Linked DNA regions of Homo sapiens: all the other regions are linked to region 2. Evidence: promoter capture Hi-C in human tissues and cell types (Jung and others, 2019). All regions are on one chromosome and are shown on one strand. The core of a region is centred on a gene start or on the middle of the fragment in contact, and the rest is flanking DNA. Distances in the headings are between cores, read along the strand shown. Region 1 has its middle 110 kb from the start of BMP7-AS1. Region 2 holds the start of BMP7 (bone morphogenetic protein 7). Region 3 has its middle 150 kb from the start of BMP7-AS1. Region 4 has its middle 130 kb from the start of BMP7-AS1.

Region 1 (3,432 bases), core at 230-2,729, 160 kb after region 2:
AAGCGCTTGGCCTGGCTGCAGACCGAGTCAAGTCCTTAGCACCAGCCATTGTCACCAGAGTCCTCTTCCCACTGTTGGTTTTCAGCTGTTTTGAATTAAGTGTGTCGTGACTCCCTTCCCTGAGCTGAGATCACCGAGGAGTGACCGCGGCTCAGAGCCCATGCCTAGGAGCTTCGAAAGGCAGAGCTGACAAGTTGAGTGGCCCTAAAATCATTACCAGGAAGGAGCTCAGCCACGGGGCTGCTTGGAACCCGGCCTGGGGCCTCTTGGCAAGTGCAGGCTGGAGGAGGGGGATCAGGCCAGCCCCACGTCCCCCCTGCTGATCCTCCCACCCTCTCTCCCAGCCTAGTGTCCAGGACTTGTCCCCAAGTGGGAGTCCCAGGAGGGCAGGGACCGTGGCCAGGTGCACCCCGTGTTGTCATAATCTCTCCACTGGCCTGAATGCTCCGAGGAGACCAGGATGAATGTGAATCAAAGTGTGGAGCCTCCACTCCCAAGAGGAGAAGAGAATCGAGAATTAAGCCTGTGAGATGTAGCTGTACACAGAGAAGAGATGAGGGCGGCAGGGAGCCCTCTGAGGAGACGACATTCTTGATTCTTGAGCATGAGTTGGAAGAAATGGAGTCAGCCAGGTGGATATTTGGAGGAGCAGAATCCCGGGTGAAAGGAATGACTGTGCCAAGGTACTGGGGCAAGAACATGCCCAGTGTGTTCCAGGCACGGCTGGGGTGGAGGGAGCGGGTAGGCGAGATGGAGACACAGCAGGAAAGCCAGGTGGTGAGGACCGTGGCCCAAGAATGGGACCTGGAGTTTACTCAGAGAGAGAGACAGAGTAGCAGACCTGTTGGAATGGGAGCAACAAGGCAGGGTCTTCCCCCCAGCAAGCTCTGCTCGGGGACGGAAGGTGCGGGGGGCATGTTGTCAGCGATCATGGACACCAGGCCAGGACTTAGACTTCTGGAAGGACGCGTTCAGCCCTGCCTTGTAGTCACCCACACTTCCGCCTACTGCCAGGGTTTTCTACCTCGGGAATAACACACGGGCTGTATCTTGAGGATTTGTTTTCCTTTTTTCTAACAACACAAAAAGCTAACAAGTGAGAATAGGCCTTTCTGTGTGCCAGGATCTACATACTGGATGCATATATATATATATATATATTTTTTTTTTTATATGGTGCCTCGCTCTGTCACCCAGGCTGGAGGGCAGTGGCGCAATCTCGGTTCACTGCAACCTCCGCCTCGTGGGTTCAAGCGATTCTCCCGTCTCAGCCTCATGAGTAGCTAGGATTACAGGGGCACACCACCACACCCGGCTAATTTGTGCGTGTGTGTGTGTGTGTGTGTGTGTGTGTATTTTAGTAGAGATGGGGTTTCACCATATTGGTCAGGCTGGTCTTGAGCTCCTGACCTCAGGTGATCCAACTGTCTTGGCCTCCCAAATTGCTGGGATTACAGGTGTGAGCCACTGTGCATGGCTATCCATGTATATCTTTGAAGGCATCACCTGCCTTGGAAACATGAGACCGAGGACTTGGTCACAAATCAAGTGGACGTTTTGGAGTGTCAGCACAATCTGTGTCCATATTTGCCAACAAGTTTTTAAAAAATGATGTTTTCTATAATCCTGGATTTGCACGGTGCGATCTTGATGGTGTCACCTTTCTCCCCGTTTCTATCCCAGCAATAATCTTAAATTCTACTCAAAACAAAGAGCTCCCTGTTGGCAGTTAATCCTCAAAGGGAGAGCTTTGTTCGAGACTAAAAAACCTCATTCAACAACGTTGGCAAGAGCTGGCATTCTTTGTGCCCACTCGGCCCAGTGTTTTCAGCTCTGACTAGGAGCCTGCATTTGAGAGCTTAAGTTCATTTTTTTTTCACCCCTTGCAAGTAGACCTCTCTGTCACAAGGCGCATTAGTGGAGCAGGTATTTAAGGGAATAATAGAGGAATTAGAGCAGCCGCCAGGAATAGAGGCAGGGGGCTGGGGGAGGATCTCCAGGTGTGCTGAGCGAGGGGGTTTCTGGAAAATGGGACCCAAGGACAAAGGAGGAGCTGGGTCTTCCAAGAGGTTCTCCCCACGCTCAACAGACACACTTTTGTATTCATTTTCAGTGCTGTGTAACAAATCGCCATAAACTTTGTGACTTAAAACCTCCTTTTGCTACCCATCAGCTCTGGAGGTCAGGGGTTTCACACAGTGCGACTAGGTTCCCTGCCCCAGGTCTCGCCAGGCTGAAGTCAAGGTGTTGGCAGCCTGCGTGCTCCTCTGGGGCTCTGGGTGGTCTTCCAAGCTCATGCGATCGGGCAGAATGCCATCCCTGGGGGGTAGAGCTTGGGTCTTACTGGCCGTCAAGGTCACTCTCAGCTCCTGGTGGCCACCTCATTCCTGGCTCCGTGGCCCCTTCCATTTTTGAAGCCAGCAACCGAGAATCTCCCTCACATCAAATCTCTTTTAGGCTTTGAATCTCCTTTTCCAGAAGGGGCCTCGTCCCATTCCCGGGCTCACCTGGTTGTTAGGTCAGGGTCCCTTCAACTCACACAGTCATGGTGCCACAGCAGAGCTTGCTCCTGGAGCGCTAGCCCATGGCATCCACAGGCCCTTCCACACTGGAGATAGGGGGGATTATGAGGCAAGGGGTGGGCTCTGACAAGGGTCACCCTGGCATTCCACCTGCCACGCCTACCTTCATGGCCATGAGCAGACACTCAGAGCTGCTCACCAATGCCAGGCCTCAGGAGCCCCAGCGATGGCCCCGAAAGCCCCACACTCTCCATCGAAGCCGGGTGGTTAGGGCCTGAGGCCTGGGCCCCAGACTCGGGTATAAATCTTAGCTCTGGGCTCTTAGTCATGTGACTGTATCAGCCAGGATGGGTTAGATTATGCCGAGGTGACAATCGAGCCTAACATCTCTATGGTTTAAAAACTGAGGTGTATCTCACACAAATCACATGACTGAGGTGTACCTCTCACACACATCACATGACTGAGGTGTATCTCACACACATCACATGCCTCTTGCAGGTTGGCAGAGAGACAGTGCTACCATGATCACTCAGAGACCCAGACAGATAGAGCAGCCATCATCTTAAATGTGGCCAGTAGGCAGGCCAGTGGGAAAAGAGAATGTGGCCTCGGCAAATCTCATGGTCACCCCTGACGCTAAGAAGGCCGGGAGGCGCCCTCAAGCAGAGAGAGCTGGAGTGTTTTTGAATCTTCCGTGAACACTCCGTGAAGTAGGTAGGTGATCTTCAGTGAGTTTTTTTTCTAGTCTGAGCCTCAGTTTCCTCATCTGTAAAACAGACACGAGAGTGTGATCTGGCCAGAGCTGGGATGCCGTGTGTTGGATAAGTGTGAGCTGGGTTCTTGCAACGTACAAGGTCATGTGAGCTCATCTACTCCTACAGCAGCAACCCCCACACGACCTTGTGAA
Region 2 (3,427 bases), core at 367-2,866:
TGCCTGGTGGGTGGGTAGAGGCCCCTCCCTGGCATGGGGCTCAAGACCTGTTCCATCCCACAGCCTGGGGCCTGTGTGTAAATGGCCAGGACCTGCAGGCTGGCATTTTTCTGCTCCTTGCCTGGCCTCTGGCCTCCCCTTTCTCCACCCATGTGGCCCCTCAGGCTGCCATCTAGTCCAAAAGTCCCCAAGGGAGACCCAGAGGGCCACTTGGCCAAACTACTTCTGCTCCAGAAAACTGTAGAAGACCATAATTCTCTTCCCCAGCTCTCCTGCTCCAGGAAGGACAGCCCCAAAGTGAGGCTTAGCCAGAGCCCCTCCCAGACAAGCGCCCCCGCTTCCCCAACCTCAGCCCTTCCCAGTTCATCCCAAAGGCCCTCTGGGGACCCACTCTCTCACCCAGCCCCAGGAGGGGAAGGAGACAGGATGAACTTTTACCCCGCTGCCCTCACTGCCACTCTGGGTGCAGTAATTCCCTTGAGATCCCACACCGGCAGAGGGACCGGTGGGTTCTGAGTGGTCTGGGGACTCCCTGTGACAGCGTGCATGGCTCGGTATTGATTGAGGGATGAATGGATGAGGAGAGACAGGAGAGGAGGCCGATGGGGAGGTCTCAGGCACAGACCCTTGGAGGGGAAGAGGATGTGAAGACCAGCGGCTGGCTCCCCAGGCACTGCCACGAGGAGGGCTGATGGGAAGCCCTAGTGGTGGGGCTGGGGTGTCTGGTCTCAGGCTGAGGGGTGGCTGGAAAGATACAGGGCCCCGAAGAGGAGGAGGTGGGAAGAACCCCCCCAGCTCACACGCAGTTCACTTATTCACTCAACAAATCGTGACTGCGCAGCTACAGTGGCTACCAGGCGCTGGGTTCAAGGCACTGCGGGTACCAGAGGTGCGGAGAAGATCGCTGATCCGGGCCCCAGTGCTCTGGGTGTCTAGCGGGGGTAAGAAGGCAATAAAGAAGGCACGGAGTAACTCAAACAGCAATTCCAGACAGCAAGAGAAACTACAGGAAAGAAAACAAACGTGCGAGGGGCGAGGCGAGGAAACAACCTCAGCTTGGCAGGTCTTGGAGGTCTCTGGGAGGAGAAAGCAGCGTCTGATGGGGGCGGGAGGTGGTGAGTGGGGAGAGGTCCAGGCGGAGGGAATGGCGAGCGCAGAGACAGGCTGGCAACGGCTTCAGGGAGGCGCGGAGGGGTCAGCGTGGCTGGCTTAAAAGGATACAGGGACTGAGGGGCAAGACCGGCTCAAGGGTCACCGCTTCCAGGAAGCCTTCTATTTCCGCGCCACCTCCGCGCTCCCCCAACTTTTCCCACCGCGGTCCGCAGCCCACCCGTCCTGCTCGGGCCGCCTTCCTGGTCCGGACCGCGAGTGCCGAGAGGGCAGGGCCGGCTCCGATTCCTCCAGCCGCATCCCCGCGACGTCCCGCCAGGCTCTAGGCACCCCGTGGGCACTCAGTAAACATTTGTCGAGCGCTCTAGAGGGAATGAATGAACCCACTGGGCACAGCTGGGGGGAGGGCGGGGCCGAGGGCAGGTGGGAGGCCGCCGGCGCGGGAGGGGCCCCTCGAAGCCCGTCCTCCTCCTCCTCCTCCTCCGCCCAGGCCCCAGCGCGTACCACTCTGGCGCTCCCGAGGCGGCCTCTTGTGCGATCCAGGGCGCACAAGGCTGGGAGAGCGCCCCGGGGCCCCTGCTATCCGCGCCGGAGGTTGGAAGAGGGTGGGTTGCCGCCGCCCGAGGGCGAGAGCGCCAGAGGAGCGGGAAGAAGGAGCGCTCGCCCGCCCGCCTGCCTCCTCGCTGCCTCCCCGGCGTTGGCTCTCTGGACTCCTAGGCTTGCTGGCTGCTCCTCCCACCCGCGCCCGCCTCCTCACTCGCCTTTTCGTTCGCCGGGGCTGCTTTCCAAGCCCTGCGGTGCGCCCGGGCGAGTGCGGGGCGAGGGGCCCGGGGCCAGCACCGAGCAGGGGGCGGGGGTCCGGGCAGAGCGCGGCCGGCCGGGGAGGGGCCATGTCTGGCGCGGGCGCAGCGGGGCCCGTCTGCAGCAAGTGACCGAGCGGCGCGGACGGCCGCCTGCCCCCTCTGCCACCTGGGGCGGTGCGGGCCCGGAGCCCGGAGCCCGGGTAGCGCGTAGAGCCGGCGCGATGCACGTGCGCTCACTGCGAGCTGCGGCGCCGCACAGCTTCGTGGCGCTCTGGGCACCCCTGTTCCTGCTGCGCTCCGCCCTGGCCGACTTCAGCCTGGACAACGAGGTGCACTCGAGCTTCATCCACCGGCGCCTCCGCAGCCAGGAGCGGCGGGAGATGCAGCGCGAGATCCTCTCCATTTTGGGCTTGCCCCACCGCCCGCGCCCGCACCTCCAGGGCAAGCACAACTCGGCACCCATGTTCATGCTGGACCTGTACAACGCCATGGCGGTGGAGGAGGGCGGCGGGCCCGGCGGCCAGGGCTTCTCCTACCCCTACAAGGCCGTCTTCAGTACCCAGGGCCCCCCTCTGGCCAGCCTGCAAGATAGCCATTTCCTCACCGACGCCGACATGGTCATGAGCTTCGTCAACCTCGGTGAGTAAGGGCAGGCGAGGGTACGCGTCTCCTTTCGGGGGCACTTTGAGACTGGGAGGGAGGGAGCCGCTTCTTCTATGCAGCCCGCCCAGCTTTCCGCTCCTGGCTGAAATCGCAGTGCCTGCCCGAGGGTCTCCCACCCACAGCCCTATGACTCCCAAGCTGTGTGCGCCCCCAGGTCGGGCGCGCTGGGTTCGGTGAGCCTGTAGGGGTTACTGGGAAGGAGGGATCCTCCGAAGTCCCCTCCATGTTACGCCGCCGGCCGCATCTCTGGGGCTGGAGGCAAGGGCCGTTCAAAGCGCGGGGCTCGGTCATGTGAGCTGTCCCGGGCCGGCGCGGCTCGCGCTACCTGGATGTAAAGGGCCCTTCCCGGCGAGGCTGCCTTGCCGCCCTTCCTGGGCCCCTCTCAGCCCTGCCTGGCTCTGGCATCGCGGCCGTCGCACCCCCTTACCCTCCCTGTCAAGCCCTACCTGTCCCCTCGTGGTGCGCCCGCCTTAGCGTACCGCGCGCTCCGAGCGCCTTGGGGCCCCTCTCCGGGCCGCCGGATGCCCCATTCTCTCTTGGCTGGAGCTGGGGAAGAAACGGTGCCATTGCTAATTTTCTTTGTTTTCTTTCTTTGTTTATTTTTTTCTTTTTTCTTTTTTTTTCTTTTCTTTTCTTTTTTTTTTTTTTTGAGACGGAGTTTCACTCTTGTCGCCCAGTCTGGAGTGCAATGGCGCGATCTCTGCTCACCGCAACCTCTGCCTCCCGGGTTCAAGCGATTCTCGTGCCTCAGCCTCCCGAGTAGCTGGGATTACAGGCATGCGCCACCATGCCTGGCTAATTTTGTATTTTTAGTAGAGACAGGGTTTCTCCATGTTAGGCAGGCTGGTCTC
Region 3 (3,223 bases), core at 517-3,016, 210 kb after region 2:
CTGCCAGCTGCCACTGGCTCTTTATTGCCCTAAATGTCCCCTCACCTTATGATTCCCCAATTAAATGGTTTCAGTGACCCCTCTCTACTCTTCTTTGTAAACAAAACCCACATTCCCCCATGGCCTACCTGCTGCCAGCCTCCCACATGCACCTTCACCCGGCCGCTTTTGCTTTGTTCTTTAAATAATGGCTTCCTCTTCCTGCCAGTCCCAGCTCCCATGTCATCTCCTTCAAAAAGGCTTCTTGGGCCTCTGCTACCTGCTGCCACCTGCCACACTTTACCCATTTTATAGCCTCCATGTGACACAGACAAGAGACAGGGAAATACTGGGTGGAAGAGGGCAGCTCCCTGGCAGAGGCCCCGCCCCAAAGCCTGGAAACCTGCAACCCTAAATGGGAACAGGCACTCCTGTTTTCATGCCCAAATGTTGCCTTTTGGCCTGCCATGGCCCCCTATCCTGTACCCATATAAACCCCAAACCCAGGTTCCACGAGCAGATGAGCAGAAGAATGGAGTGGTGGAGGAGGAGAGAAGAGAAGGAGCGTCTGAACGTCTGCTGGGGACAGTCAGAGAGATCGGCCCAGGGACAGCCAAACTCCAGGGAAAGATCATCTTCCCACGCCATTCCCTTTCCAGGTCCCCATCTGTCCTGCTGAGAGCCACCTCCAGCACCAAATAAAATCCCTGCATTCACCATCCTTCAAGTCCATGTGTGACCTGATTCTTCCTGAATGCTGGACAAGGACCTGTGTACCAAGACTGAGCTGGTTAACACTTAAGCCCTCCATGGATGGCAAGGCTAAAAGAGCACACTGTAACACACGCCTACTTGGGCTTCGGGAGTCACAGGATCCCACCTCCTGGATGCTGTTGTGGGGCTGGAGCCCAGGGGTGCTCACCCTATCTCCTGCACCTGCCTGTCTGCGTGCTCTCCCTCCTGTAAGGGGTTTGAGCACACACATGAGCCGTACCCTTGTTGCACATCCTGCAAGGGGGTTCAGGGAACTCTCCTGTTTCACATAGATATCCTTGTCAGATTCCCAATCTTTTCAATGATCTTATTTATAGGCTTTCCTATTGGTGAACATTTTCCCTGTGGCCCCTCCAGAAGCAAAGCTTTCTGAGGCAGGCACACTCTGGATCCTGCCCTCAGCGATACTGCACATGGTGTGTCCTCGGAAACCGGCACCGATAAGTGTCCAAGACATATTTATTGACTAACTGAAAGACACACGTTTACATAAATCCACCAGTGAAAATCAGGGTTGGGTACAGAATTTGCAGGGCCCAGTACAGAATGAAAAGGCGGAGTTCCTTGTCCAAAAATTATGAAGAATTTCAAGAGAGCATTAAACCCAGGGCAGGATGCTTCTAAGTGTGGGGCCCTGGACACATGCCCGTGAAGCCATCCCTGACTACGATATTACAACCACGGCCAAAGAATAATTTCTTAACTAAAAGTTCTTACTTCACTCAGTGCCCCCCAAACTCAAGTCCCAGCAGGGGTTCATTGGTAGGAATCCAGCTAAGAAAAATGTGGACAATGGAAGTAGTTTTTTTCTCAAGGCTAAACTGATGTCTCAGGGCTCAGTCTTAACTATTCTGCAACTGCTTTCCTTTTCTATTTTTGCTGGGAAAGTGTCTTCTCTTTTGAGAAGTGATGGTGATGCTGGATGTAATTACAGAGTACAAGGTTTGAGACTCTCACCCCCAGTGTTTTGGGTGCTTGCTTTGTATGTTGCCCTACTCTGTGGACTCCGGCATCTGAGAAGCGTCCTTTGAAGAGTTTAGTGGGATGGCTCCTATGTCCGTTCCCTTTCAGCAAAGAATCTGAGAGCATCATGGCCAGCAGAGGGGGCCGCAGGAATGCCGAATCCCCCTGGCAGGTCCCACATGTGGAGCTGCTCTCCCATCTCTCAGCTACCAGGGACGTACTTTATTAGGAGGAGAATCAGAATTCTATGAAACTCACCTGATGACCCTCCCTTTGGCATTTTGTATTTGCACGGTCTTCTTGGGCTAAAGCCTTTTTGGCTGAAATCCATGGTTCTGAGCCCTGGCTGCGTGTCAGCCTCACCTGGTGCGTTTTAAAAACATAATGTCCTGAGCTCGCCTCCCAGCATTTCTGATTCAGTTAGTCGGGGATGGGGCCTGGGCATCGGAGTTTGTAATGTCACTTCCCATCCCTGCTCTTTAATTCCAATTCTAATGAGTTGAGAACGCCAGCCAAACAGAATCTCTATCCGAAACTGGTGGTCTCATGGGAAAGGGAGTGAGTGCTTCTTTTTGGGGCCTGGGACAACTGTCTTCATTGCCTTCTTAGAGAAGGACAGTTTCAGCAAAGCACCAACAGGGCATGCCACAGGTTTGGGCAGGAAGCCTTGGGTGGTGCCCTGCCTCATGCTTGGTGGCACCTGAGCAGCTGTCCCTGACCTCTGCCTGGTCAGGAGCTTGTCCCGGTTTTCCTGTCTTGCCTGCGTCATGAGCAGGCCCACCCCTGGAAATGTGGCAGCTAGGTGTCTGGGCCCAGTGGGCTCTGGGTTGCAGCTGCTCCTTGCAGCCAGTGCATTGAGAGAACAGGCTGAGGTGCTGCCTTCTCCCTGAGCCGCCTCCTCCAAACCCTCGTGTAGCTCTGTCCCCAGCTGAAATATGATGACATTTACAGACTGCCTGTGAACGTGTTTCCTAATAGTAACCTTTTCAACAAAAAGAATAATTCAAAGTTTATGCAAAAGGCAATAGAAACCCCAAATGACTCAAAAGGTATTTTGGGAGTGGTTCCTCCCGCTGATCAAATGAGTAATCCTTCTAAGAGAGTACAAGCAATTTAATAAGAAAACTGTCTCCACGGTGAAGTTGCTTGAACCTGGGAGGTGGAGATTGCAGTGAGCTGACTTTGTGTCACTACACTTCAGCCTGAGCGACAGAGTGAGACTCTGTCTCAAATAATAATAATAATAATAATAATAATAATAATAATAACTCGTTCTCTGTCAGCAACCGCAGAGGCAAATCTCAAGACTTCACAGCCCTGCTCACCCGCACCCCACCCACTTCCCCATTGCCTCTGTCCTGAGATGGTTCCTTTCTAATATTCTGAAAAAGAGTTTGTGTCTCCCAGCATTACATTTATACAGGCATACCTTCTTTATTGCAATTTGCTTTATTGCATTTTTTACAGATTGAAGGTTTTGTGGCAACTCTGCCTCCAGCAAGGTTCA
Region 4 (3,452 bases), core at 678-3,177, 180 kb after region 2:
CTTTAGGCATATAATCTCTGACACTGTAGTGTGAATGCAGCCATAGACTACAAGCAAGCACAAGGATGTGGCTATTACAAGAGCAGATGGCGGATGGAATTGGCCCCGGGCCATCGTTTGCCACCCCTGGTCTTAGCCAACCAGAGCAATCAATTCCTTTTGCCAAGTGTCGTTAGGAAGAGACACAGGCTGAAGTTCATAAGTCCAGAGGGGACGTCCACAGAAGGAATTTGGGAAGCGGTTTCTTTAGTCTTAAAAAGAGACTCTAGAAGGAAATGTTTATTCTCTACATCTGGACATAGCTAGTGAGGAGGTGATGGCTGGAGCTGGTGCAACCCTCGTGCGCCATGAGGAGATGAGCCTTAGGACCAAACTTGACATGTGGAGGGTAGAAGGATCCTGGGTCTCTGATAATGTCACTGAGTCCATCAGCGAGCAACCTGGCACTGCCACCCTCCTCTGGATTCGTGATGAAAATGATAAAGAGTTATTAAAAGCATCTCTGGTAGAAGTGTGTTCCTTTGTAGCTAAAAGCCTCCTGATTCCTGTCTTGCCTGGGTTTATTCTGTACAGTGCTGAATAGAAGAAATGCCAACCTGATTTTATTCCAGAGGATTTCAGTGGCAGCCTGTGAGTCAGCCTTGTATGCACAAAGCCACAGGTACAGATGTGTGTGGAAACGGACAGCTTCCCAGCAGTAATTTTTGATTTATGTTATTTTTATAAATCATTATAAAAAAACAATTCTGGAGCCTGCGCTTTCGAGTCTCAATGCGGAGCAGGTGTGTGTCTGATCATAGAGAGAGGTGCAGCAGGGTGAGCTCTCGTCAGCCCTCTCAAGCCACCTGGTTGGCAGGTAGGTGGCGTGGGAGCTTGCAAAGACAGCCCAGCATGCGCACAGGCTCCCTTGAAGGAAGGGCAGGAGCAAGGCCGCAGGGAGGCGGGCGCGGCTGTTCAACAGCAGACACGTGACCAGGGAGCACGCACAAGTGGCTGTTCAACAGCAGACACGTGACCAGGGAGCACACACGGGTGGCAGTAGGACCACTGAGGTCTAGAGGTCAGGGACGCCTTCCTGAAGGAAGAGGCCTCTCAGCCAAGCCCTGAAAGGTGTGGGCGGTTAGAAGGGAATGGGGAAGGGGTCGGGGTTGGGGTGGGGAGAGCTTTCCACCTAGACAGCAGCTTTGCACGGGCCATGTGAGAAGTGAGACGGTGCAGGATTTCTTCAGGGAGCCCCTGAGACAGCGAAGTTGCCGCAAAGCTGGATCTTACGTTCTGATGCTAACATTTGCATTCTGTTAACACGATTTTTGAAAATCTCCTGTAATGTCGATAAGTAACAGCGTTCACGCATTTGTGAGCATGACTTTGTAATGGCAAAACCCTGGGATAGAGCAGTTTTCTCAGCCATGGCACCATCAGCCTTCGGGGCTGGGTAACTCACGGTGGGGGCGGCCAGTGCATTGTGGGGCATCTGCAGCATCCCTGGACTCCACCCACGAGATGTCACTAGCAATCTTCCCTCCCAGTCAGGAAAACCAAAAATGTCCCCAGACATCAGCTACTGATGCCCCAGGGGGGCAAAATCCTCCCCAGTTAAGATCCCAGGGCTAGACTAAAAGAAGGCAGGTCTGTCCACTAGAGAATGGCCTGGGTGGGCAGAGCGTCCTGCCCTGGAAGACTCAGCCACGTTTCTGGTGATGAACGGCCGGTGAGGAGTGGGGATTCGGAAGTGCTGCTGCCTACCACAGGGGTTGCTCCCGTTGTATGTTACTATTGAGCCTGTGGACCCAACACACACTCACAGATGTGCTTGCTACTCAAGGATGGAACAAGGTCATGGCAGCAGGCACCCTTGGTTGCCTTCCTGTGTCCTAACGGCCCCTGATGTAGCTCCAGGTCCAGCTCTCAGGCCCATGAGCCCCTGGGAGCGCAGGTGCCAGTCCCGGTTCCTGTGAGTCAGTCGTGGTACTCCGGGTCCTATTGATGGTGATCGGTTTCGGGATGGGCATGTGACCCAGTTCTGGCCAATGAGGGGTGAGGAAAGGTCTGATGGGAGCTCCTGGAAGAGGTGTCCTCACTGATCCAAAGACCCCAAAAGGCCAGGATCCTCTTTTTCCACCCCCTGAAATCAAAACAGCCATCCTGAAACCACGAGGGAGCCAGTCTGGGGTGGCGGAGTGGAAAAGCGAAAAGCACCCGGCTCCTCCAGGCCGCGCGGGCTGCTGCATTCACCAGCTTGGGGCTGCCCTGAGGCCTCTGGGGAGGGAGGTAACACACTTCTTGAGGGTTTAAGATGATGGGCATGGCAGTTTCTGGTTTTTGCCACTGAAAGCATCCTGGTATCAGACTTCTCAGGAAGGCTGTGCAAGGGTTCATGTAGTAGATGTTCAATGCACACGCAACATTCTTGGAGATGGGATTTGAAAGCATCACACGACCCAGCCGTCTCTCAAGCTGCTTCTGTCAGGACCACTGACTGCTATCACTCAGCGCAGACTCCTGCACAGTGGGGTCTCATCTTGAGGTTGGGGTGGTGACAAAGTGAGTGTACAAGTTAAATGATGACCCGATGACAATGCTATATGGGCCACGGGCATCTGGATGGAGATGGGCCCTGGAACAGAGGAGCCTCCCTGGCTTTGATGCTCACAATAAACCTGGGACTTTCCCATAAAGTGGAGGCCACCCCATCCCCCGCCCCAGGGACTCTACCAGCTCTTCTTTATGGTACAAAAGAAACACTTCCCATAGTTCATTAAAGCTTTTTATGTTTTTTTTAAATTAAAATTAAAAACAAAATGAGTAAAAGAAGGCAGAGAAGAAAGAGCCCCTCCCTGAAGCCACATGGTTGTCCCAGTGCAGCTGAGGTCCGCCCCACAACAGACTGAACCCCACACCCCACCCCCAGGCAGGATCTTCCTGGGGATCCAAGGGTGACATGCAAGATGAATCCAGGCTTTGCAAGGCCAAGGATGGTGTCTCCGTGTGCCACCTACCTGGGCACAGAGCTGTGGGAAACCCAGCCCCTGAGGGTCTGCAAACCTCCTCACTCCCAGCTGAATCCGCTTCCTCCTGATACAGTGGAGGAGCCTGCTGTGAGGCCCCAGTGTCCGCACCTCAGCATTGCCAGTAGGAAGATGCCACCCCGCCCTGTGACTGTCAGGTGGCAGGATGTGCCTGAATTGGGGCAGCTGCCCCCACCCCCCACCTCCTGTTCTGAGCCCTGTTGGGGCCCAGCCTGGCCTAAAACCCAGCACATGTCAGTGGTAGGGGAGCTGGCCTCTCCTTACCCAAGGGCCACCAAATGCTAGTGGCTTCTCTGACCCACCCGTGGTCGAGGCCAGAAACATTGGATGGCTCAAGATGTCTTGACATATCCTAGGCTGTGGCGGCCACCCCAAAATGGGAAGCGGGGTCTTTCCCAGGCCAGTTGTCCATTCTGTCACCCA

The links. The method cuts DNA at HindIII sites, captures the fragments that hold promoters and counts their contacts. A contact is called where the count stands out against the background at its distance.
Region 1: a fragment that was not itself captured here is called in contact with the fragment with the promoter of BMP7 in region 2 in 4 of the 25 tissues and cell types used here (dorsolateral prefrontal cortex, hippocampus, mesendoderm cells and 1 more).
Region 3: a contact is called between a fragment that was not itself captured here and the fragment with the promoter of BMP7 in region 2, in 5 of the 25 tissues and cell types used here (H1 embryonic stem cells, IMR-90 fibroblasts, bladder and 2 more).
Region 4: a fragment that was not itself captured here is called in contact with the fragment with the promoter of BMP7 in region 2 in 2 of the 25 tissues and cell types used here (dorsolateral prefrontal cortex and thymus).

The regions. Positions count from the first base shown.
Region 1 is chr20:57,101,673-57,105,104 of GRCh38, reverse strand. No RefSeq gene overlaps it. Among named protein-coding and RNA genes, the nearest start is that of BMP7-AS1, 110 kb to the left of the region's middle. The HindIII fragment of the contact is 6,948 bases long and covers 1-3,432 here.
Region 2 is chr20:57,264,830-57,268,256 of GRCh38, reverse strand. It overlaps BMP7 (bone morphogenetic protein 7), which reads left to right and starts at 1,616. Exons shown (of 7, transcript NM_001719.3): 1 at 1,616-2,552. The coding sequence starts at 2,135. It overlaps LOC112268270 (translation initiation factor IF-2-like), which reads right to left and starts at 1,817. Exons shown (of 2, transcript NR_171651.1): 1 at 1,615-1,817; 2 at 970-1,474. RefSeq lists a cis regulatory region at 1,417-1,509, a promoter at 1-2,128 and an enhancer at 3,237-3,427. The HindIII fragment of the contact is 13,311 bases long and covers 1-3,427 here.
Region 3 is chr20:57,060,123-57,063,345 of GRCh38, reverse strand. No RefSeq gene overlaps it. Among named protein-coding and RNA genes, the nearest start is that of BMP7-AS1, 150 kb to the left of the region's middle. The HindIII fragment of the contact is 4,827 bases long and covers 1-3,223 here.
Region 4 is chr20:57,084,769-57,088,220 of GRCh38, reverse strand. No RefSeq gene overlaps it. Among named protein-coding and RNA genes, the nearest start is that of BMP7-AS1, 130 kb to the left of the region's middle. The HindIII fragment of the contact is 8,766 bases long and covers 1-3,452 here.